Regions from separate parts of the Homo sapiens genome. Here regions 2, 3, 4, 5 and 6 are each linked to region 1. The links are contacts of gene promoters, found by promoter capture Hi-C in blood cells and fetal thymus (Javierre and others, 2016). All regions are on one chromosome and are shown on one strand. Each heading gives the region's core, a stretch centred on a gene start or on the middle of the fragment in contact. The rest is flanking DNA. Distances are from core to core; before and after follow the strand shown.

Region 1 (4,228 bases), core at 37-2,536:
AATGCGCGCTCACCTGGACAGCGCGGCTCAGCGGCACAGAATGCTGTCGCCCTGCTTGTTCACCGCGCCGGCCTGGAACAGCAACCGAACACCAAGGGAAAGGTTAGCAGGCGCAAACAACGCGCTCGACACGGTCCTGGATTGTCCTCGGAAATCAGGCTGGCGCGCCGACGCCCCCACCCCAGCCTGTAGCCGGGGGGGCCCCTCCGGGCTCAGGCGGGACTTGACAGCCCAGGGCGCCCACAGCCCCGAGTCCCGCCCTGCGCGTTCTCCCGGACCCGCGCTCGCCGAGCCCGGCCGGCTGCTGGCGGCCCGGGGGAGCCCGGAGGAGCAGGGGGAGGGGGCTGTCATTCCTGGCCCGCCCCTGCCCGGAGGACGGTGAGCGCCCGCGTCCCGCCACCACGCCACCAACCTCCCATCCCCCGCGGCGTCCGCCCACGGCCGGCGCCCGGCCTCTCACCGGGTCGGTGTTGAGCGCAGTGAGCGGGGTCCGCGGCGGCGCGGCTGGACAGGTCCCGGCCGGGTGGTGTGGCGGCGCGGGCGGTGGTGGCTGCCTCAGCAGGGCCGGGTGCGTCTCCAGCGCCAGCTGCAGGTCCAGGATGTAGTCGATAACGTGCTGCAGGATCTCCACTTTGCTGACTTTCTTGTTGGGCGGGATGGTGGGCACCAGCCTCCGCAGGCGGCTATAGCAGTCGTTCATATCGCACTGCAGGCACAGCGCCGGCTCGTCGGCCGCCGCCTCGGCCGCCTTACAGCGCGCTGCCGCCGCCGCCGCCGCCGCGGCTGCGGAGCCACCCAGGCTGTGGCCGTGCTCGGCCAGGCAGCGCAGCGCCAGCTCCCCGCCGCCGCAGCCCGACGGCGCCTTGCGGCCCGAGGGGCGCACCGGGCTCACCGCCTTCATCGCGCGCGCCCTGCGCTCTACGCGAGCGAACCCGCTGGGGCGAGCGAGGGAGGCAGGCAAGCTCCGGGCCCCGTCCGCGGCCGGCTCCGCTCCCTTTGCCTCCGCGCCCGGCGCGCTCGGGGCACCGCGACACTCCCGAGCCCAACAATTGACGGGAGGGTCGCTCTGGGTTTTACGAGGGAATCTTTGCTCAGTGGGCGACACTCAGCCCGAGCCCAAAGGAAAAAAAAAGCAAAAGCACCGGAAGAAAAGTAGCCCACCCGGGTGTCCTAGTCACTCCCTTCGGAGCTCCGACTAAGCCCGATCGCGGCCGCCGCGCTCCCCTAGCCCGGGATCACCCCACTCCCGGTACTACTCACAACCGCGCCTCCTCCACTACGCTCTCGCCCGGCCCGCCGCGCAGCTGTATTTATAGAGCCGTGCGCCCCGGGGGCGGGACCAGCGCGCGGGCCGGGTCGCAGCGCGAGCCGAGCGGAGCCCGCTGGGCGCGCGGGCGGGGGCGCGGAGGGAGAGGCGAGGGCGGGGGCTCCGGGCGGTGCTGGGGGGCGGGGAGTCCGGCTACCCGAGTGGAGGAGTGGGCGGGGGGTCTGGAGTGGCCAGCCAATCAGGCGGGCAGTGCCACCTCGGGGAATGACGCTCGGGCCAATGGGAAGGGCACTCCATTCCGTCAACGCTGTGGGTCGGGGTTCTGAGAAAAGAGAGCTGAGTGGGAGTCGGGCCAGGCTGATGTGTGCCCAAGGGAGGGGAAAAGAGAGAGCGAAGTTCCTGCGAAGAACTGCGGGAATGTGCGGCCGGAATTCACTCTCCACCGCCCCCCTTATCCCGACTAGGCTGCTGAGGGAGCGCCTGGGCCCTGCTCGCGGATACCCTGCCACTCCTAATAGCACGGCGCCCAGGGACCCTCCGCCACCCATCACTCCATCCGTGGGATTCCAGTGCCTTAAGAAAGACGCGCTGTTCAAGAAGGCACGTTCATTCTGTTCTATATTTCCCTCCTCCGTTTCATTATTCGCCTTTTCACATTTGCCGAAACCATAATGATGGAATGGAATGTGTAGCCTTTCCGTTTTCTTTTTAAAAAATGCTAAAGCTTAGCAAAAGTAGAAAAAAAAAGAAGGAAAAGAATGCCGAATCGAATGCAGGTTTTTGGTGAAGGGAATATAAATAAAACAAAAACGTGGGGGGGGTTCTTTTACCCCATCTAAATGCAAAAGTGGGCTCAAGAAATGCAGTTGCCTTGCGCATTCAATTAGAGCACGTAAAGATTAAAAATGCATGGACACGGAATATTTAAAATTCCATTATGACATATAATATTAATCTGTTTTATGTAAAATTCATACCTGTAACTTAATTTAGGCCATTAATGCACAGCTTCACGTATTAGTCAGCGTACCCCGCTTTAAATAAGGTGATGAGAATGTCCAGAGTCGCCTCCTTTGACAGCAAAGCATTAAAATTCACACTTCCAGTCTCTGGGATCCCGCTTGGGCCCCACCCTGCAAAAAAAAGCCTGTTAATTAAGGGCGTTTTTGTGTTAGATTTCTTAGAGAAAAGCTGTCCTTCAAGGGTTCAAAATAAAATTGCACAATGAGCTTTGGTGGAGCATTGTGTGTACCCTTCAAGAAAAAATTGAGCCCTTCAGATGAGAAAGGTGCATAAAAATTCTCAGACAATGGGGAAATGAATTTTGAGTGCCTTCACTCTACAAACCCTCCCACCTTTAGACACGCTTGGAGATGAATTAACCCAAGAATTTTCTTCATTCGTGTACATGACATGGATTGGTGTCTTCATTTTCATAGATAATTGAAAGAAAGAGACATGGACCTCATTTCTTCCTGTCTACCCCTATATGGACTTTTTCTACATCCATTCCCAGAACTGAAATACCTGCACCAGGCAGATATTTTGTTTAGCTATGTCAGTGCTTTATGACTATCGCACTATTCCCCAGAGCACATTCCTTTCTCCTGATGAAATGAGGAGCAACTATTTAATTCTGGTTTCACAGGTAGATGCAATAACCCTCCTCTCCCCTAATCCTTGTATGTTACTGCTTCTAATAATTGTTTGGAAACAAGTGCCATTCTCATTTATTTATGTGCATACGTAGATGGTCTACATACACATTAATCGAGAAAATCAGAATTATGAAACTCAGAAGGGCTTTCTTCTAAAGACAGGCATAGTCATATACATCATTAAATTAATGCAAATACAGAGAAAATGTTGTAATTTTAAATGGGAAGTCGGTGAAGCCAGCACTACTGGTTGTAAGCTATTATCTTGGAGCCAGTCATATGAGCACAGACGATAATAATAAATGGATATATGTACAGATGTTTTGTTCCATTGATCTTTCTCTTTCCTAGAGTTTAAAATTTGCTTCCAAATTCAAAACCCAAGACTTTCCTCTGTTTGGCAAAATAAAACTATGCTAATATGCCCAGGACACACTTACATTTAAACATTTTACATATCCTAACGATTAAAATTAAAATTTAAGTTTTGAATACGTAACACAAAGGAAGAATCATATCGACCTTTTTGGAATTTGCTAAATCTCAGAAAGCCATGCCTTGGGTGTGACAAGCGCCAAATGCCTAAGTTTCAGGTTTTGTTGGAGATGCTCTGTGTGACTGGCTTAAAGTTAGAAAGACTGAGTTACTCTGTGTGGGGTGGGGTGGAAGAGGTGGTTTCAAAGGAATGTACCTCAGCCACAAGATCAAGAATACCCAGGAAAGATGTGATCCGTAAATCCTGCTAGCAGAGTAGGCAGAGGCAGTTACTGTGCTCCTTGTTTTGAAGGTTGGAAGGCATGAAGACATTAAAAAATTAAAGTGCTACCATATACTATGGGAATAAGGAATACAATCCTGCACGTTTTGGTCCATGAAACCAGAGAGTACTAGGGGCTATGCAATGTATGTTTTTGTATTCTTAGACATAGACACTTACATGACATCAAAGCTGCAATCATGGAAGATTCCTGGCACTGATAATTCAAAACAGTTTACCCAATTATCACTCAGATTTTGGATAAACCTTACAAGCTATGTTATTTCTACTGTGCAGAGAAGGTAACTTAGTCTGTTGGTGACTCTTTTACATCAAAGTGTTTCACTTGCACTTGTAAAAGTAAAATGGGCTAACCCAAATCCTTTTGTCATGGAAATGCTCGAGACTCCCAAAATATACCTCAGTAGGAACCTAGAATGAAACATTCATAGGAGAATTGCTAGAAAGCCGTGATGACCAGAGTCATGGATACACCCTTCCTCCAGACAAAGAGGTCTGCTGTCCTCCCTGAGATGTATTCTAGCT
Region 2 (4,228 bases), core at 1,264-3,763, 1.3 Mb after region 1:
GCAGCTACTAAAACCAGTTTAATTAATGATTCTCACATAAATTAAGTGAACTTACATTACCAGATAATAAAACATATTATGACACTACAATAACGTAGTACACACATAAAAATTGATGGTAGAAACAAATAGCCCAGAAATGGATCCTAATATATATCTACTCAAAAAGAACTTAGTATATGATAAAGGTGAGATGACTAATCATTCAAGAGGAGGAAGGATTATTTCATAAATAGTGTTAAAATAGAGAGTTAACTGTTTCAGTGAGAAGATAAATCACTGCCTTACAAGATACAATAATGTACATTTTGGATGGATTTAATTATTAAGTGTAAAAACTACACTCAGGAGACCCAGAAGAAATAATAAATATGTGAATTTATAATCTAGAATTTCAAATATCTTTCTAATCAATGATAAAGGAAAAAATAAACCAGAAAGAGAGGGAGACCAATTTTCCTACACTTTTGTATATCACTTACTCACATCAAAAACCACCATAAAAGGCCTGGCGCAGTGGCTCACGTCTGTAATCCCAGCAACTTGGGAGGCCAAGGCAGGCGAATCACCTGAGGTCAGCAGTGATTCCTGCTGAAACCCCGTCTCTACTAAAAATACAAAAATTAGCCGGATGTGGTGGCACACGCCTGAAACCCCAGCTACTCCAGAGGCTGAGGCACGAGAATCACTTGAACCCAGGCAGCAGAGGTTGCAGTGAGCCGAGATTGTGCCACTGCACTCCAGTCTGGGCAACAGACTGAGACTCTGTCCTCAAAAGAAAAAAAAAACTTTATGTTCCATTAGGGCAGGGGCTGTCTCTCTCTCATTTGCTGCTGAATGTTACACCTTCTGCAGTGCTTCACACATAGTGGGCAATCAATAAGTATTGATCAAATAAAAGAATGATCATTTACAAAAGAGTAAATAGAAATGACCATTAACACAGTTATGTTTTAAAAGTCCCACATGACTGGTAATCAAAGAAATGAAAGATGAAGCAGAGATAACACTTTATTCCCTCAACTTGGCATGTATGTCTTTTAAAATAATACTCACTGCTGTCAGGTATATGATGAAATGAGTACTCTCACTCACTGCTACTAGGAATCTGTTAGGTCAAAATTTGTCAAAATGTGCAAAAATCTCAAAAGTGTTTTGATCCTTCAGCAATATTTTCATTTCTGAGAATTTATTATGGAAAAATAATCTAAATAAACACAAAAATATCAATCTCCGCAATCCTGGTAATGCTGTAAATTGGAAACAACCTAATTGTTAAATACAGGGAATTGATTAAATAATTATATACATATGAAATAATGTTATAAAATATTAATATTTGTGATTTTGAATATTTAAGTATATGGAAAATTGTATGTTATAAAACAAGTTTAAGGATAAATCTATACGTATATATTGATTCCCATATTTTAGAAAATATATGGATATCTATACGTTAAAAAAAATAATATGTAGTCCAGGCGCAATGGCTCCTGCCTGTAATCCCAGCACTTTAGGAAGCTGAGGCAGTTGGATCACCTGAAGTCAGGAGTTCGTGACCAGCCTGGCCAACATGGTGAAACCCTGTCTCTGTTAAAACTACAAAAATTAGCCAGATGTGGTGGCACATGCCTGTAATCCCAGCTACTCCGGAGGCTGAGGCACGAGAATCGCTTAAACCCAGGAAGCAGAGTTTGCTAGTGAGCTGAGATCTCGTCACTGTACTCCAGCCTGAGCAACAGAGTGAGACTCTATCTCAAAAAAAAAATAAAAATAAAAATAAAGTGCATATTTTTATGTTTACTTGGATAGCGAAATATGCTTTTAAATTGATTTCCCAAAGAACTCATACTACTTGTATAATAAAACAAAAATAATAATTTTAAAAAACTTATCTTCACCATGCACAATGGCACAGCAGCTACACAGAGGCCACAGCAGGACGATCACTTAAGCCCAGGAATTTGAGACCAGCCTAAGCAACATGGAAAGACCCTGTGTCTTTAAAATTTTTAATAGTTTTTAAAGACTTCTCTTCTGTGAGGTTTGCAAGCTTTTTCATAGTTTGCAAGCTGTCATTTTAATATATTCTATTGATCACAAAAGGATTGGGGTGGGGAGAGATAGGTACTATAAACTGAAACCCCGCTGCTCTTAGGCAAACCCAACAATCCCAGCATATGTTGGGGTCAGTAGTGATACTCTCCTAGCCGGGACCTCCTGGGCTCACTCCATCCTACGCAACCAATACCCACCCTTGGTAACTCAATCACTGGCATCTAAAAAATGCTTTTTGCTTAGCTTAGAATATTTTGCCATTTAGATGAACATTTTTCATCAATTTTTCACTGAGTTTTTTTCTCCAGAAATGTGAACTGAAAAGTGAATTCATAGAAGAAAAATTGTTGAAAAAAAATTTCCTTTAGGATGTTTTTAGAGAATTTTTTAATCCTGAGAAATTTCACCTGCAGGAAAAGAAAAAAAATACTTAATTGCTTATTCAGTCCTATTTTCCTAAGTGTTCAGATCTTTTAATAACTTTAATGTATAGGACAGTTGCATAGGTAACATTTTAATATGACTCTGTGCATATGTGTACTACTTCTCAAAGAGGTTGAACAATTTTACATACCAGTAGTGTATGATATTTCTGGTTGCTCCACATCCTTAAAAACACTTGATGTGGTCAGTCTTTTTAATTTTAGCCATTCTAGTGGGTATGTAGTAATGTCTCATTGTGATTTTACTTTGCATTACCCTAATGTTTGGTGTGGTTGAACATTTTTTTCATGTGCTTATTTGCCATTTGTATATCTTCTTCGGTGAAGCCCCTCAAGTTATTTTTTCAGGACTGTGCTTTGTTAGAACGTTTGAAGCCTATGAACTTAAGAGAAATTCATATATCTGGTATTCCAATAAAATATTTGGAGATACCCTTCAAAAACGAGGTGTTCAGATCCTACTTCAAGCTTTATTTTTCATAGCTTTCCTGCCTATAATTATCATGTCATCATTATCCTATCTGTATATAGTCAAATAATATTGTCCTGAGAATTAATGTAAAGCAGATTCCTTCCTTCTGGCTACTGGATTTCCCTCTCAGATACTAGTTGGATGCCTGCCCAAGAGGAAAATATCAGGCATTGCAGACAGGTAATCCTGAGCACACAATCTCATTCTATAACTGAAATCTAAAATGCTATACACCAAGGAACATTTCATAAATCTTTCCTCTAGTTGAGAATTATAACCTCTCTTTATGACAGAGAACATGTGTATCCAGTGCTGGAGATTTTATTCTATGCAATAGGAAATAAATAAATAAAATTGAAAAGCATCCAGATTTGAAAAGAAGAAATAAAACTGGCTTTATTTGCAGATAACACGACTGACTCTGTAGAAAATTCTTTGGAAAAACAACTTTGAAAAAAGAGCCAGAGGGTTCGTACTGCCTAACTTCAAAGCTTTTACAAAGTTTCATTAACCAAGACAGTGTGGTATTCGCATAAAAATAGATCAATAAATGAATTAGAATAGAACATAGACCCACATATTTAGGATTGTTGACAAAGGTGCCAGGACAATTTAAAAGAGAAAGAATAATCTTTTCAATAAATGGTTCTGGAACAACTTGGTATCTATATGCACAAAAATGAACCTTGATTCTTACCGCTTAGTATATACAAAATTTAACTCAAAATAAAACATAAGCCTAAATACAAGAGTTAAAATTATAAAACTTCTAGAGCACAATAGGAAAAAAAATCATAGTGACCTTAGTTTGGCAAAGATTTGGATACAGGAATAAAAAGAAACCATAAATTAGACTTTATCCAAAGACACTATTTTAAAAAGGAAATGAGAAACCCTAGACTGGGAGAAAATCTTTACAAATAATGTATCTGTTAAAGGACTGATATCTGGAATACATTTTTTAAAAACTCTAACACCACCACCACAATTTTATTAAAAATGGGCAGAATATTTTAATTAACACTTCAAAAAAGATATACAAATAGCAAATAAGCACATGAAAAAAATGTTCAACTACACCACTACATAACCACTAGAATGGCTAAAATTGAAAAGACTGATTATATCAAGTGTTTTCAAGGATGTGGAGCAACCAGAAATTTCATACACTACTAGTGAAAATGTAAAATTGTTCAACCTCTTTGAGAAACAATTTCTTAAAATGTAAATATGCAGTCACCATATGACCTAACCA
Region 3 (4,228 bases), core at 919-3,418, 1.3 Mb after region 1:
CATGCCAGTTTATCTTCCCCTAGCTCTAGGCACAGCTGGAAGGAAAGAAAAGGAAACCCATTTTAAAGCATTTTAAAGCTACTCTCTATTCCAGACTATGAGGCTGCTCTGTTTAGGATCTAAAATATGCTTACTTTAACCCATCTTTGTTGACACAGCCACAAACTTCAGCAAATACTGAAACCAGACTCAACTAGATTTCTTATAAACTTTCATATGTGAGCAAAATCCCCCCTTGATTTTGCCTAGTGTTCATCTGCTATAATTTTTACCAAGTTCTAAAAAGGAAATCTTCCAGCATTTCCTATTCTATATTTTTCAGCTTAAAAAAATAAAATGCCAGTTGGACAGCACTTATCCATTTGAAGTTATAGTAAATTTTGCCTCTTCATTCTCTCAAAAGGTTTTTTCTGATAATCATCACTGTGTTTATATTTTATAAGCAGTCCTTCTAACCCATATAACTCTCTCTGATGCTCAAAGTAGTAAGGATAATTGGACCTGCATTTACAGAAGAAAAACACAACAAACAAAAATCAGAAGCCAAAGCTTTGTGTTGGGGGTCTGGAGGGGGTGGGGGCATCTCTTTTTTCAAAGAGCCCTAAATGTGTTCACACTTGGCTGACTTACACTGGGAAAAATGTGCTGTCCTCGTACAAAGCCAAGGGCTCATGTCCTCTGGCCTTTGTCCTCAAACCTTCTCTATGACCAGTGTCATAAACCCCATTCATTTCATAATGAGCCACTTCTTCTGAACCACTTCTTCCTTATGCTGTAACTGGCCAGGTAACCTTGGACCTATCTCTGATAACTTCTCTAAGCTTCAGAACCCTTGCCAATAAAATCTGGGTAATCCCTTCTTTGCTTGAAAGCTTGGAGGCAGACCTTTCCCATTTTAGATCCAAGCTTCCTAGCCATGTGTTCAAGACCCTACACAGTCTGGTTCCAATGCCAACATCCTGGACAGCCCTCTCCTCCCTCCTCCTCCTGCCCCGTGTAATGCAGCCCTGACTCCTGATCCATAAACATTCCCTCCTGTACGTATGCATCTCTGTGCCCCAGTTCCAGCCTCTCTTTCTAGATTAACATCCTTCCACCAGAAGTTCAGACCCAGTTCCCAGGGCACCTACTCCATTAAGCCTTTCCTGATTTTCTCCAGCTACAATTTTTCCCTTCTATTCACTCCTTCTTACGAAACATTCACACTCTTTGTGGTATTAGGAATGATTTATATACAGCTGTATTCTTCTCTACCAGATGTAGGCAAAAACCTCAGTTTACTCATATTTCTATCTCTCTCTCCTCTCCACCCCAAGGTCCAGATAGAGTCTCAATTTTTAATAGATGTTCATTAAATATTTCTTAGGTTAACAAAAAGCATATAAATTTACTTCACTATGCTGGTCTCTCTTTATATAAAAATGACTAGAGGCCAGTGTGGTGGCTCATGCCCATAATCCCAATACTTTGGGAGTCCGAGGCAGGAAGACCACTTGAGGCCAGAAATTCAAATTTAGCTGGCCATGAAGGCACATGCCCACAGTCCCAGCTACTCGGGAGGCTGAGGCAGGAGGATTGCTTGAGCCCAGGAGGGTAAGGCTGCAGTGAGCTACATTTGCACCCCTGCACTCCAGCCTGAGTGACAGAGCAAGACTCTGTCTCTAAAAAAAAATAAAATAAAATAAATTAGTATAGGAAAGAGTGATCATATTGGCTAACTAGCTTGAGATCACCTAAAAAAAAGGATAGCAAATATTTATTACAAAATTAATGATGCTATAGATCAGCATAAGCCATGGGTACAGGAACATCAACACCTCGTAACCAGGCCCCTGATTCTGGTTACTAAAACTTTGGGGGAAGGTAATGTATATGTCCTGCCACTGGTCACCCACCTTCATCCTCTGATGACACAGTTTTTGGTCCATCTCCCAGGCCAGGCTTACTCAGAATGGTGCAAGATTATCTCCATCTGCAACAACTGAGACAACCTCAGCCTCTTTTGCTACCTGGAACTTCAAACTCTCTCTGACATGATAAGAAAGCACACTCACTACCGCAAGTATTGGGGGGAAAGGAAAGGAAACTTAAATATGTGATGAAATATTAACCTTGAAATCAGATGAGGTAATTAATACATTTTAATGTGCCTCTTTTATAAGATGACATATTCTTACCCAGTAAATAACATGGCTGCCAGGAATATATTTTTGTTCTTAGAAACCAAATACATTTTTTTTTAAGTTCCGGGATACAAGGGTGGGATGTGAAGGTTTGTTACATAGGTAAATGTGTACCATGGTGGTTTGCTGCACCTATCAACCCATCACCTAGGTATTAAGCCCAGCATGCATTAGCTATTTTTCCTGATGCTCTCCCTTCCCGCCATTACCCTCTGGATAGGCCCCAGTGTGTGTTGTTCCCCTCCCTGTATCCATGTGTTCTCATTGTTCAGCTCCTACTTATAAGTGAGAACATGCAGTGAGAGACCAAACACCTTTGATCATAAAAAGTCACACATGACTTTGAGTTTTACAAATCAGTATCCTTCCACATATGGAATAAAATATCCAAAAAAAGGACTGGGGTCAGGAGACCTGTATTTGCAGCCTCAAGCTCACAATACATATTATCATTTCAATTCTAGTTCTTGCTGCACAAGGCATAGCCCACAAGGCCCTCTCTATTCTAGTCCCATCTATCCCCAAGTTTTTGGTCATCTGACACATCGAGAAGCTCACCAGTCTTTGGACATATCAGACATCTTCTGAGCTTCATGCCTTAGCTCAGGTCGGACACTCTCTCCTTCCTCCTCTCTGCTTTCCTTCAACAGCTTCTGCCCTGAGTTCATTTCTGAGTGAATTATTTGCTCCTACATCTGTGCTTACATATGGCTTAATTTAGTACTTGAATATCATGTTTGGTTAGTTGAGTACCTATGTTATGTGGTTCTCACCCCCCCAAAGGATGATGATTTGCCTACTTTTTTTTTTCCAGAAATTAGCATAGTGTCTGACTCATAATTGTGTCCATTCAAACCTGTTCTTTGCTTCCATGGCATAGAATCATCACCTTAAAGTGTCTGTTCAGCATAAGACTAAGAATTTCCCAAACCCTCTATCATCTACATAGGGCCATCTAGGCAGCTCTCCCATGGAATAAGAACAGAAGTGATGCTTCCCTCTTTCAGGCCAAGTTGGTTAAGAATGGCTCCTTTTCCACACTCGGTTTCCCTTTGCACCAATGGGAAGTAGAGGATTCCAGGTCCTGGAAAGGCCACAAGGCAGAAGGAGTCGAAGACCTTGAGTTACTGCATGGACAAAAGCCTCCTTCAGCAGGAGACACCCTCATTAGACAGTTATATGAGCAAGGAATAAACTTCTACTGTGTTATCACCGAAATCTGGGGCTTTATTTGTTACAGAAGCTTTATCCTAACTATACAGATTAATTCTCAAAACTGTATATTTTATTTAATTAAATAATCCTGTGTAACCAACAATGGTTGTCCTTGTCCCTCTGAAGTCTAAATCACAAAGTACCAATAAAGGAGAAGAAAGAGAGTAGGAGGAGGAAAAAAAAAAAGGAAGGAAGGAGAGAGGCAAGGCAAAGAAAGGGAGGGAGGGAAGGGAGGGAGGAAGGGAAGGAGGGAGGGAAAGAAGATCTAAGCAATGAACAATTGTAGTCAAACTATCACCTCATATGTAAGTTGCCTATATCCTCACCATCAGTTGAGCACATTATAACCAAGTTATTCATTAATTGTGCTGCTATAGCACTTTGGGAGGCCGAGATGGGTGAATCATTTGAGGTCAGGAGTTACAGACCAGCCTGGCCAACATGGCGAAACCCCATGTCTACGAAAAAAAATACAAAAAATTAGCTGAGCATGGTGGCACACACCTATAGTCCCAGCTACTTGGGAGGCTGAGGCACAAGAATCACTTGAACCCAGGAGGCAGATGTTGCCATGAGCCAAAGTTAAGCCACTGCACTCCAGCCTGGGCAACAAAGCAAGACACTGTCTTAAAAAAAAAAAAAAAAATTGCTACCGTATCCACAGTGCCTAAAACATTCCCTGAGACATAGTAGACATCCCGAAAATATATGCTGACTTTAGTAAATAAAATTATGAATGAATACCATACCTTTTCTTTCTTACAAAATGACCTGAAGAAATCAAATCTCCCTAAACTAAGAGATCATGGTATTTAGTTAAGTATAAAATA
Region 4 (4,228 bases), core at 728-3,227, 1.3 Mb after region 1:
GCTTCATATACTTTTTGTATATAAAGTCCATACATGACTTTTTGTTTTATTTAAAAATTCAGGCCAAGTGTGCTGGCTCGTGCCTGTAATCCCAGCACTTAGGGAGGCCGAGGTGGGCGGATCACTTGAGGTCAGGAGTTCGAGTCCAGCCTGGCCAACATGGCAAAACCCCCTCCTTTACTAAACATACAAAAATTAGCCGAGCAAGGTAGCATGTGCCTGTAGTCCCAGATACTTGGTAGGCTGAGGCATGAGAATCACTTGAACCTGGGAGGCAAATGTTGCAGTAAGCTGAGATTGCACTCTGCACTCCAGCCTGGGCAACAGAGTGAGACTCTTGTCAAAACAAACAAACAAACAAAAAAAACCAGACGAGGGATATTGAGACATATATATACCTTAATCCATCAAATGAATCAAGTGAGAAGCTTATGCAGCTTAACATTTATAATTTCATTGCAATTTTTATTCTAACCTTCACCAGGAATTTCAAGTTTATATATTACTTTCTCGGAGCCTGAAAATTAAATTATTATTAAAAGTAAGACTAATTTCATGTGGATCTTTAAAGACGAGTGTTAGAAAATAAATATTAAGCAGAATGAAATATTATAGTTGTGTTTCATTTATTAATTTACCAAATATTTATTGAATGAACACATGAAGTGACCAGAGTACTGAGTTGGGTGCCATGAAAAGATATCCCTTATCCTCAGTGCATTGTAATACAGTAGAAAAATGAAACTAAGTGAATGGATTTGCACTTAAAAATGGAAAGAAATATATCAACAGATGCAAAATAACATACAATTCTACTTCAAACTTCTGCACACTATTCAACATCCAATTTACAGGATAAATAAATTCAAATACCTCATAATAAATAGTATGCTATAACTAAGAGATTCATTGCAGATTTTCTTTAAGCAACAAAGTCTGCTTATACATATTTCTACTATAATTCTCTGGAAGCTTGATCTCTCACTCTCTTCCACACATTTTTTTTCTTTACATTGCTGACCCTTACCCCAGTCCTAGCCCCTTATTTTGGTGAACAGACTTAACCTTTACATCACAGAGAAAATAGAAACTGTCTTCCTTCATCTAATCAGCTTTTCCTACTTCCTTTTGTCCAATGAAGGAGGCATGTCATTGCCAATCAAGGTTTGGCCCTTTCAGATATATGCTGGGGCTTACTCCCTTCACTGCTTTCAGACTTTGCCCCTTGGATTTTCCCCTTCTTTGCTTTGGGACTTAAATCTACTGCCTTAATTCTCACTGCCAGTTTCACTGACATTTCCCCAGCCGTTGCTTGGTTGGCGGGAGTTCCTCCTCTAATCATTTCCTCAAAATGGGCTGACATGAATAATGTCTCCTGTGTTCTTGCACATTGAAATCTGTTTTTCTAGAATCTTTCAGATGTAAAAGATATTTTAACCACATATAAAATCTTTGGCTCATTCTTTAAAAAAAAAAATCTTCTAAGGGTAGATTCATATCTTTAAAGAAGTCCGACTCCTGCCCAACTTCATCCCATCATAAGTGACTTGATATTTTTACAGGCTCATTCAAAATATTCATTCTTTATTCTAATCATTTTAGGATTTGTCTTGACTTCTCTAGAGCAATTTTCTGGTCCATTATAAGCTCTTTAAATACGTAGATTCATGCCTTATTTTATATTTGAAAAGTTTTCTTGAATTGTATTTTTAAATATTGTATTTTTAAATATTTGTTCTGTTTTTTTGTTTCGGTTTTCTCTTGGTAGACTCTATGTGAATGTATTTGATCTCCTTTGCTCGTACTTTATTCCTATAATTTTGACTCTAATCCTCTTTATCTCTGTATTTCTCGTTCATTTCATGTCTACCTCCTTTGTCCCTCACTGTACTTTCAATGGTGTCTACTCTTCCTTGTGCTGAATCTAATTTATTAGTCTTTACTTCTGAAATAATTTTGATTTGTACTTTTATTTCTTTCATGGTTTCTACCAAATCCCATTTTACCTTCTCCTTTAATTTGTTCCTCATTTTCTGTTGTCCAGCCCTGAGTCCTCATATTTCTGCTTTGTATACTTTCATTAAAATAACTGTTATTGTATGGCAATTCCTCAAAGACCTAGAACCAAAAATACTATTTGACCCAGCAATCCCATTACTAGGTATATACCCAAAGGAATATAAATCATTTTATTATAAAGATACATGCACACATATGTTCACTGCCACACTAGTCACAATAGCAAAGACACGTAATCCACCCAAATGCTCATCAATGATAGACTGGATCAAGAAAATGTGGTACATATACACCATGGAATACTATACAGCCATAAAAAGGAATGAGATCATGTTCTTTGCAGGGACATGGATGAAGCTGAAAGCCATTATCGTCAGCAAACTAACACAGGGACAGAAAACCAAACACTGCATGTTCTCACTTATAAGTGGGAGCTGAACAATGAGAACACATGGACACAAGGAGAGGAACAACACACACTGGGGCCTGTCTGTGGGGCGGGTTGGGGAGAGAGCATCAGGATAAATAGTTAATGCATGTGGGGCTTAATACCTAGGTGATGGGTTGACAGGTGCAGAAAACCACTATGGCACACATTTACCTATGTAACAAACCTGCATGTCCTGCACAGGTATCCCGGAACTTAAAATTAAATTACATTTAATTTAATTTAAAAATAATAATAACAGTTATTACTCCATTAAGTTTTTTATTTTTAATTCATGGGATGTTAAGTTACAAGTTTTATCTGCATCTTGGCAATAGCTTTCTGGTGCATTTCGTTCTTCTATAGGAACGTTTTTCTATTGTTTTCCACAATTTAATAGATCTCTGTATAAATGCTATGCCAGCTCTTTTTTGTTTACTCATATTTGAATGAGTTTTATTTTCCTTAACCAGCTAGACAAAGAATTCTAGTGCACAGAAGGGAAGGACTGAGGACATCCAGTGTTCTAAGCTTCACAGATAATGGGCATCCTCCTCTGTTACAACAGACTATTTCCTTTAAAAATGATGCCTCTGTGCAACCACATTTTCTTTGCCTTTAATGCTCAAAAGAACAAAGCTGGAGGAATCACATTAGCTGACTTCAAATTATACTACACACCTATAGTCACCAAAACAGCATATACTGGCATAAAAACACAGAGACCAATGGAACAGAATAGAGAACCCAGAATCAAATCCACACACCTACAGTGAACTCATTTTGGACAAAGGTGCCAAGAACATATACACTGGGGAGAAAACAGTCTCTTCATGAAATGATGCTGGGAAAGCTGAATATCTACATGTAGAAGAATAAACACTAGACCCCTATCTCTCGCTGTGAACAAAAATCAAATCAAAGTGGATTAAGGACTTAAAACTAAGGCCTCAGACTATGAAACCACTACAAAAAAAATTTGAGGAAAATCTCCAGGACATTAGTTTGGTTGCACAGGCAACCAAAGCAAAAATGGTCAAATGGGATTACATCAAGTTAAAAAGCTTCTGCACAGCAAAGGAAACAATCAACAAAGTGAAAAGCCAACCCAAAGGATGGGAGAAAATATTTGCAAACTGCTCTATAGTTTAGAGCTCAAACAATTCTATAGGAAAAAAAATCTAATAATCCCATCCAAAAATAGGCAAAAGATTTGAATAGACATTCCTCAAAAGAAGACATACAAATGGCAAACAGGCATATGAAAAAGTGCTCAACATCATTGACCATCAGAGAAATGCAAAACAAAACTACAATGAGATGTCATCTCACCCCAGTTAAAATGGCTTATATCCAAAAGGCAGGCAATAACAAATGCTGGTGGAATGTGGAGAAAAGAAAACACTTGTACGCTGTTGATGGGAATATAAATTAGTCAAACCACTATGGAGAACAGTTTAGAGGTTCTTCAGAAAACCAAAAATTGAGCTACCATATAATCCAGCAATCCCACTGCTGAATATATACCCAAAAGAAAGGAAATCAGTATATCGAAGAGATATCTGCACTCCCATGTTTCTTGCAGTACTGTCCACAATAGCCAAGATTTGGAAGCAACGTGTGTTCATCAATGGATGAATGGATAAAGAAAATATGGTACATATACACAATGGAGTACTGTTTAGCCATGAAAAAGAATGAGATCCTGTCATTTGCCACAACATGGATGGAACTGGAGATCATTATGTTAAGTGAAATAAACCAGGCACAGAAAGACAAACA
Region 5 (4,228 bases), core at 946-3,445, 1.2 Mb after region 1:
TTACAGAGAGAAGAAAAGGAGTACTATTTATAAGCATTTTGTTTAACCACTACTGTCCTAAGCTTCAACAAGTTAAAAAAAAATTTGAGACAATATACATCTTGAGCATAAAAACTATGTCCCATTCTTTATGAGTGCTTCTAGATGGCAAGTAATCATATAAACCGACCAGTCTCATCAATCATTGACTCCTTAGTGAGCATCTGATAAGGGATTGGCCTTAGCAGTAGGTGTTATAAGTAACACCTACTTATACTTACTTACCCTTACTTACTTACTTACCCTTGACAAGTTCATACCCCAGTTGAAGGATACAGAATCAGAATTTTGGGCTTGCAAGAGTTATCAAAGTTCTTCTAGTCCAACCTTTATCCCATGAAATCATTATAAAGATTAATGACAACCCAAAAGAGATCATTTTATAGTAGAAAATCCAGGCACACTCCACAAGACAGGACTCAGAAGACTGGCCATTTATTCCCTCATTCCACCAAATCTGTACTTTGTTTAGAGAGGTTTGTAAAAATGAAAAAGTAATACCCACACTATAACCCCAACTAAAGTTGAAAGAGAGGGCTGATATGCATTGATGAAACACATTCCCTACATTCTCCTTCTCTCAAAAAGCTAAAGATCTTTTTCTACCGCTGGTTGATTTGTTGGGAAGACAGAGGAGAGAAGGGAAGGGTGACTGCGTGGATTGGAGAAACCGCCTCCTCGCTGAGCAATTTCACGTAGTTGCCCTCCCTCTAGTGGTCAAAGTAGAGATGGCAGCTTTCTGGTTCAGTCTTAAAGAGTCCGCCTGGAAGAAGGAATAGGGGTTACCCAACCCCCAAAGTTTTGCCTATCTAATTTGGAACCTCAATGCTAAGTTGTAAAACAAGTTGCCTTACAAAGACTTTTCCTTAATTAGAACATCTTGCTTGTTTATAATGATCATGGCACTTACAAAAGACCATATGTCTTTGAGACGCTGCTTGGCAAGACTTTTCCAATATTTACCAAATCTATTTTGTATCCCATGCTAATAATAGTCCAGTGGGTCCCCAGGCAGAGGGATGGAGACAGAGGACTTCTCGTTTCTTCTATTACTCAGTGTTCTGCCTTCAGAATGTGAAAGACCTCTCAGTTTCTCTGAAAGGACTGAAATAGAGCTCAAAGTTTCCCAAATGCTGTTATTTTGGGAAACGTTTGTTTCAAGGGCTAAATTGTCATCGTTTGACAAATCAACATTGAGCAATGCTCTGCACTTTGTAACACACACACTTTAAACTATTCCTTTAAAAGAAACTTTGAAATGAATGCCAAATCATTGTATCCACAATATAATTACGTTCTTTAGGTGGTAGCTTTTTAGTTCAGGAAGGAACAAGAGAGGTATATTCTGATCTAAGAGGGTGAAATTGATGTCTGGCATTGGTAGCAACTGTTCCGAGGTCACTCAGCTGGACTTTTCCTCACTGTGTAACCCCGACTGTGCTGGGTGTTTAAAAATAAATTGAGAGTGAGTGGATATGCCTACAATATCTGTCATCAACATAACCCCCCAAAAATAAGTAATCATTTTGTTTCATTTTGTTGATGTGGCAATAAAGAATGTGCTCAGTTTATTTTTTCACTCCTTAAGTCTGATTTTGGTCATCCAGGAGACACAGCCACCATCATTCATTTTGGCACAAAGTTATGTGGCAATTTATATAGAGACCTGGGAACTAACTGGTTAGGTTTGATGTTATCCAAGAGATGTTTAATTTATGTGAGTCTTTGAAAGTCAATCAGACATGTTTTTGTGTGCAGGCTACATGTTTTACACTAAGGGTCTCTTTTTTTAGTTGAGTTGTAATGGGGGAAAAAAAAAAGACCCGGAATTCTTTTTCTCAATAGTGATAACTCCACAGTTCTAGGTGGCATAATCCTTTATTGCAACGTATTCTATATAGTTTGAATAACTATTATTACCAAGTCTTTCTCCCTACTTGGGAAATGGTGGCATTATCATCTATTTATGAAGAGCTTTGAAATAGCTCATAGCAACAAGAAATGACCATTGAAAGTAGCTAGCACATATTGACAGCTTAACATGTACCAGCCAGTATTTAAAGGCCTTAGCCCTGTTAACTTATTTATTTCATAAAAGAGGCCTACTATGCAATGACCATTGATATCCCCATTAAACAGAAATGGACCTTCAGTTTCATGAAGGTGTCTCCACAGTATCTCACTAATTATGACAATATTCTTGTGAGACTCTTAAATGCTTCATTTTTTATATTCTTTATTAATAGCTATATTGTATACATATGACACAGGACTATGTTTCTTTTTTAAAAATGTATCTGTCATAGTTGCTGCCTTGAGTTCCTTGAGGGCAGAGTCTGTGTTTTAGTTCTTTAGATTTTCCTGTTATAAATCACTTTATTATGTGCAGTGCATGGCTTTTCTGAATCAAATTTATTTATATGTAAATTTACTACTGAAATTTTGCTAATCACTAGAAAGGTTTGTGCCATAAAGATCCCCTATTTCCAAAGAAGAAAAGAGAATTGCATTGGAAGTTTATGAAATAGCAATTAAATTTAACTTTGAGGGTATAGAACTGCTACCTTCCACTATGAAAATACTTTGGAACAGAGGATACTGAGGGGAAAGAAGTCGGAGAAAGTTCTCTGATGTGACTATGTACTTTTAGAAACAAAAAAAAAACTCAAAGTACATGTTTCAGTGCCAGAAAAATTAATAAAGGTGAACAGCAATCATGAGTCAGCTCCTGAGGGGCCTAGCTGTAACTCTAGGAAATTTGAATTGAAGCAAAACTTAGAGGGGCGACATATCTCTCAGGTTTTAGAGAACACCAAGACATCTATTCCCAGGACATAGAATACTTTGCATGAAATAATTGACTACATATACTATGAGGTTACTGTTATTTTTCAAACCAGTTTCCAAAACTTCAACTTAAGTTTTCTCCAAAGCACAGACATGCACCTACAAACACATCTGCTTCTTTTTTTCTTTTTTTTTTTTTCTTTTTTTTGAGATGGAGTCTGGCTCTGTCACCCAGGCTGGAGTGCAGTGGCCTGATCTCAGCTCACTGCAACCTCCACCTCCCAGGTTTAAGTGATTCTCCTGCCTCAGCCTCTCAAGTAGCTGGGACTACAGGCGCCTGCCACTACGCCGGCTAATTTCTGTATTTTCAGTAGAGACGGAGTTTCACCATGTTGGCCAGGCTGGTCTGGTACTCCTGACCTCAGGTGATCCACCAGCCTCAGCCTCCCAAAGTGCTGGGATTACAGGCATGAGCCACTGCACCTGGCCTGAATAAACCTTTTTGAGCAACTTCTCTAAGAGGGTTCTTGGTTGGAAACCAACCTCAAGGAAGCAAAGTCCTGCCTCCAAAAATGTGGCAGCCTAGGTCCACCAAGACATAAACACTATTGGCACAACATACTATTGAATAGATGTAGGGGTGCAAAGAAGGGAGAGTGTATCTCCAGCTACAAACATCCAGAAGGATTTCATGGAGAAGGTGGGCTAGTAGCTGATCACTGTAAAATGTTTAGAAACTTAAACATGCAAAGTTGGAGGAAGACCTTCCAGACAGAGTTAACCATGTGAGCAAAGGCTCCAATTCACAGACGATAATTTGAGAGTCATAGACAGGAAAAAATAATCCTGCTTGAAAGGGAATAATGGGAAGTGAGAATGGACAAGTAATTTTGGAATCAAGCTGAATGTTTCCATCTATTTGTATAGTGTTCTGTAGCCACTGCTTAAAACAAAGAACAGGCCAGGTGTGGTGGCTCATGCCTGTAATACTAGCACTTTGGGAGGCTGAGGCAGGTGGATCACCTGAGGTCAGGAGTTCAAGACCAGCCTGACCAACATGGCAAAACCCCATGTCAACTAAAAATACAAAAATTATCCAGGCGTGGTGGCATGTGCCTGTAATCCTACCTACCCAGGAGGCTGAGGCAGGAGAATCACTTGAACCCGGGAGGTTGAGGTCGCAGTGAGCCGAGATCATGCCACTGCACTACAGTCTGGGCAACAAAGCAAGACTCCATCTCAAAAAAAAAAAAAAAAAAGAAGAACAAAGTCAGGGTGAAAAAGCCTGATTCAGAAGAAAGCCCATACTGTGCATGCAACAGACGTTCAAATCATTCCAGGAACTAGAGGCAGAACAAAGAAAGAAGTACCTTCCCACACAACTGAAGGGAAAGTTCTGGGG
Region 6 (4,228 bases), core at 819-3,318, 1.2 Mb after region 1:
CAACATTCTGCATGGTGTGACAATGAGAAGAGCATTTTTAAATCCCTTTTGTTGAGAAACATAATTTCTTATTTGACCATCATTGAATAATATTATGAAAGTCTCTGGGTAATATTCCCTCAAGAGCAGCAACAGTCTGGGAATATCACTTGCAAGTATCACCTAAAATATATGGGCTACACTGGCATGCACCCCCACCCCAGGCTGCTGCATGACCCATTTTTTGGCATGTAGGCTGTGTGACATGCCCATGCATCCCAACCATCCTCTTACTCTCATGAGCATCTTTCCCTCTTCCTCTGGCCCTCCTCCCACCAGCTCAGGTACTGTAAGTTTGATAGGGAGAGATGACTGACTGCTGCTTTAGAGATATGTTTAAGGCACTAATATGACTCTAAGACCACTAAAACATTCAGTCCAAGTTCTCCCCTACTCCTCAAAACTTTGCGTAAAACACACCGCTCTGCTCTACACAGGAGAATACTTGGATACATCTTGTGTAAGTCATCATTCTCATATCACTTCAATATAAACGGCAAGAAAATTACAGAATGTCTTCCCACTGTCCACCAGCAACCTCTGGTGTACCTCAAACATAAGTAGAACTTAATGCCCCAAATACAGATGTTATTCAAGAAAGAACAAACCGGCCAGGCGCGGTGGCTCACGCCTGTAATCCCAGCACTTTGGGAGCCCAAGGCAGGCGGATCACTAGGTCAAGAGATGGAGACCATCCTGGCTAACATGGTGAAATCCTGTCTCTACTAAAAATACAAAAATTAGCTGGGTGTGGTGGCAAGTGCCTGTAGTCCCAGCTACTTGGGAGGCTGAGGCAGGAAAATCACTTGAACCCAGGAGGCGGTGGTTGCAGTGAGCTGAGATCACACCACTGCACTCCAGCCTGGCGACAGAGTGAGACTCCAAGAAAAGAAAGGGGAAAGGGGAAAGGGGAAAGGAAAGGAAAGGAAAGGAAAGGAAGGGAAGGGAAAGGAAGGGAAAGGAGCAAGAAAGAACAAACCTAGGAATCTTTCCTATGGTACACAGCTGGTTACAATACAGGAGCTAACACAAAGGGTGTGGCCCCATGGACAGGGGAAGAGCTACAATTCAAAAGAGAAATCTTGTCTACAGCAGTATTTAGCAGCTGAGAATCACAATAGTTCATGTAAACAAAATAGTTGGAACAGTTTGGAAAATAAGCAGCAACTACAATCAATTGCCAAACAAATAGACATGTGGTTCTGACAAACTGCCTCGTTTAGACAGCGAGAGCAGAAATCCAAGTCGAAGCCAAGGGGTAGTTTAAGCAAAGCCAGAGCAGAGGTCATGGCTGGGCTGCAACAATATCATTATACCTACAGGGTTTTTACATGATGCCCTATGTTCTGAACTTTTTTTCTTTCATATGTATCGAAACTTGAAAGAAACAAGCCATCTATTTTTAATCAATATTTTGATAAGCTATGTTAAATAATCACTCTTGCTTAAAGGCCACAGCCAAGTCTCATTAGCTGCTGTGTTTTCCCTTTCATTTTTGTTGGCTTGCTGGATTGCTTGGCAATTTTCACTAAACTTAGGTTAAGGAAAGAGAAACAGGCCAAACTTTTAAATCAGATGAAAACCTTTCACTCCTATTCTTTTAGAGCTTTCTTTCTGTTAAATTGTTTCTCCTGACTTAAAATAAGGTCTCGAATGAATATACCCATCATTATTTTAAAAATAATAATAATTGGTTGTTAAGAAGTAAAAAGCAAAAAGCCTGTATTTTATTCCTCTATCTCTCCCCTCAACTCAATGGCTATTAAAGGGCAATGATAGCCCCACGGAAACAGGAGTTCTTTTAACTGCACAAGAAAATGCATTTAAAAACCTAAACAAGCTAGCTGCAGCCATATCTTTGTTTGGCAACCTGAGTATTCTCTTCACTTAGCCCTGTTCATAGCAACACACAAAGGACCACTCTGCAGCCAGGGATAATAGCTGATCCCATAATCTGGCACTAACATTTAAAAAGATTAATTACCCTATTAAAATCTTAGACATTACTAAGAAAATCTTTGTATAAACCTTTTGACTCACAACAAATGCAGCCTCCTTGGTGCCTTCAGTTTGTTACACAATAAAGGTCCTCTCCCTCCCTTACTTGTTCACTATTATTTCCAACATCTTTAGGAATATCCAGATACACACACAGGAAAGTGCACTCACACTGGCACACCTACACTGAGCCACAGACAGCCAAAGCTGCTTCCCAGTACAAAAGTATAAAGTGGAAGTGTGGTTGGAACAGATAAAGTAAAAACTCCTCCCGTCTATAAATTGGCTGCTACAAAGATTAAGCGGCAGGGAAAAAACACTCCGTGATTCAAAGACTGCTGCTGTGTCAGAAACCGGAGGTACCTAAGAAGATTCAGGTTGTAATCCCCACACAAATTATATGCCCAGTATTCGGAATTATGAAGAGGGTTAAATTCTTCATGCTTGGTATCAAAGTTTCCCTTTAGAGTATAAGACTAGTGATTAGACTTTAAGGACACCTCAACATTTGTTTTATTTCCACAATGACTGTCAGCCTATCATGATTTCCTGTCTTCTCCATGACTGCTTTGTTCTCAGACGTCTTATCACATTTGCCAGGAGAACCCATTGAAAGTGGAAGACCAAGCACACAGGTTATAATTCATTTATGGTCCATACAAAATACTTAGCCAACTTCATTTTCTCCTTATCAGTTGCAACATTTCACTATGTCATCAAACAACCCTGATCAAATGATATCCTGAGAAAAAATTTCTGGAACATTATTGATAGTGCATTGGTTGAAATCCCAGCTCCACCACGTATTAGCTATGTGAGCCCCGGCAAGTTATCTGATAGCCCTCACATGCTCCATCCATAAGACAGTGATGAGAGTTTACACCAAACACATAAGGAAGTGGGGGGATGATGTGAGAGACAGCATGGAAAGTGCTTGGAACAGCACCTAATACATAATGAGTGATCAGAAAGTGTTCACTGTGGGTATGATTATCGTGGTTGGTAATCACTCCCAGAGTGATTTCAGAATAATAGAGGGGATGTTGTCCAAGCAAGGAGAAACTTTAAGAGTAACCAGTCCCTTATATTTTAGAGCTAGTAAGAAAGCAAAGTTTTGACAAAGTTAGCAACGAGGACACACAAACATGCTAACCTTCAGTTTTGTGAACAAAACTAATGGAACTAGAAAGTCCCCAAAACACACTTCACTTATCTTACTCTACCATCCCCACCTTCCAATAGTTGGTTCACTTTATCTATTTCTCCTTATACCATTTTCGGCTCTAGTTTCACCAATCATCTCAAAGAAACTCGAAAAGACTTTTCTATTTAAAAAAACACACACACGTGAGAGAAATCCACAAATGTAAATTTCAGGAAAGCCCAAAACTGCTCCAGCAATACTAGAGGATTCTTTGCAGAGAATGACCTTCACTAAACACCAAATCTACTGACACCTTGATTTTGGACTTCACAGATCAAAGAACTGTGAGCAATAAATGTCTGTCCTTTATAATATGAAGCCTAAGGTATTCTGTTGTAGCAGCCCAAATGCACGATGACAGTGACTTTCTTCAGTTCTACATTTCTTGATTTCTCAGCAGTTGCTATTTACCAGTCTCAGATATGCAGAAACTGTTAGCTCAGAAATTATAAGAACAGGAATGCGTGCACCAGAGTTTTCCTCCAAAAGCAGAGGAGAAATGAGATTTCAGCAACATGAGGGTCAGAGGGGAACTCAACACCAAAGCCTTTTCTGAAATGTACACCATTCTCTGAAAGATGTCCACATCACCACTTTTTTGAAATATATTTATACAAATAGGCTAGGGTCCCAAACTTTAATTCCAAATAAACAGCACCTTGTCACAAAGCCAGGCTCTACCCAAGGTTATCAGTTGCTTGTCAAAAATCTGATTACGATATCTATAGGAAGCATACACAGAAACCAGGAAAGATGGTTGGCCTCTGATTACTCCCCTGTGTTGCTTTGTTTTCAACTCACAGATCTGAAGCCAGCCCTCTTCATGGGAAGTTCTCCATTTTAAACGCATCAAAATCTATCATTAGTACCTTCAAACATCTTCCGTCAGAAGGGCAAAGTGACTGCACCTTGCCTACCTGAAAACATATGCAGTCCTTTCCAAAAAGCAGGTTTGGGCAATACCAGAAAGAAAGAATTTTGAACATC

Evidence for each region. Contacts are between HindIII fragments. The CHiCAGO score rates a contact against its expected background, and 5 or more counts as called.
Region 2: a fragment that was not itself captured here is called in contact with the fragment with the promoter of ID4 in region 1 in 1 of 17 cell types (endothelial precursors); the score reaches 7.1 in endothelial precursors.
Region 3: a contact is called between a fragment that was not itself captured here and the fragment with the promoter of ID4 in region 1, in 1 of 17 cell types (endothelial precursors). The highest score is 6.5, in endothelial precursors.
Region 4: a contact is called between a fragment that was not itself captured here and the fragment with the promoter of ID4 in region 1, in 1 of 17 cell types (endothelial precursors). The highest score is 6.3, in endothelial precursors.
Region 5: a fragment that was not itself captured here is called in contact with the fragment with the promoter of ID4 in region 1 in 6 of 17 cell types (erythroblasts, endothelial precursors, M0 macrophages and 3 more); the score reaches 7.1 in erythroblasts.
Region 6: a fragment that was not itself captured here is called in contact with the fragment with the promoter of ID4 in region 1 in 1 of 17 cell types (M0 macrophages); the score reaches 5.3 in M0 macrophages.

What each region holds. Positions count from the first base shown.
Region 1 is chr6:19,834,428-19,838,655 of GRCh38, reverse strand. It overlaps ID4 (inhibitor of DNA binding 4), which reads right to left and starts at 1,286. Exons shown (of 3, transcript NM_001546.4): 1 at 461-1,286; 2 at 14-72. The coding sequence starts at 901. The coding sequence ends at 28. The HindIII fragment of the contact is 2,827 bases long and covers 1-1,993 here.
Region 2 is chr6:18,517,716-18,521,943 of GRCh38, reverse strand. No RefSeq gene overlaps it. Among named protein-coding and RNA genes, the nearest start is that of MIR548A1HG, 2.9 kb to the left of the region's middle. The HindIII fragment of the contact is 916 bases long and covers 2,056-2,971 here.
Region 3 is chr6:18,537,969-18,542,196 of GRCh38, reverse strand. The region is part of intron 3 of MIR548A1HG (MIR548A1 host gene); the gene reads right to left. Among named protein-coding and RNA genes, the nearest start is that of MIR548A1HG, 17 kb to the right of the region's middle. RefSeq lists an enhancer at 4,161-4,228. The HindIII fragment of the contact is 2,520 bases long and covers 909-3,428 here.
Region 4 is chr6:18,574,648-18,578,875 of GRCh38, reverse strand. All of the region lies in intron 3 of MIR548A1HG (MIR548A1 host gene), which reads right to left. Among named protein-coding and RNA genes, the nearest start is that of MIR548A1, 5.0 kb to the right of the region's middle. The HindIII fragment of the contact is 2,005 bases long and covers 975-2,979 here.
Region 5 is chr6:18,592,945-18,597,172 of GRCh38, reverse strand. All of the region lies in intron 4 of MIR548A1HG (MIR548A1 host gene), which reads right to left. Among named protein-coding and RNA genes, the nearest start is that of MIR548A1, 23 kb to the right of the region's middle. The HindIII fragment of the contact is 4,262 bases long and covers 65-4,228 here.
Region 6 is chr6:18,611,465-18,615,692 of GRCh38, reverse strand. All of the region lies in intron 4 of MIR548A1HG (MIR548A1 host gene), which reads right to left. Among named protein-coding and RNA genes, the nearest start is that of MIR548A1, 42 kb to the right of the region's middle. The HindIII fragment of the contact is 4,543 bases long and covers 1-4,228 here.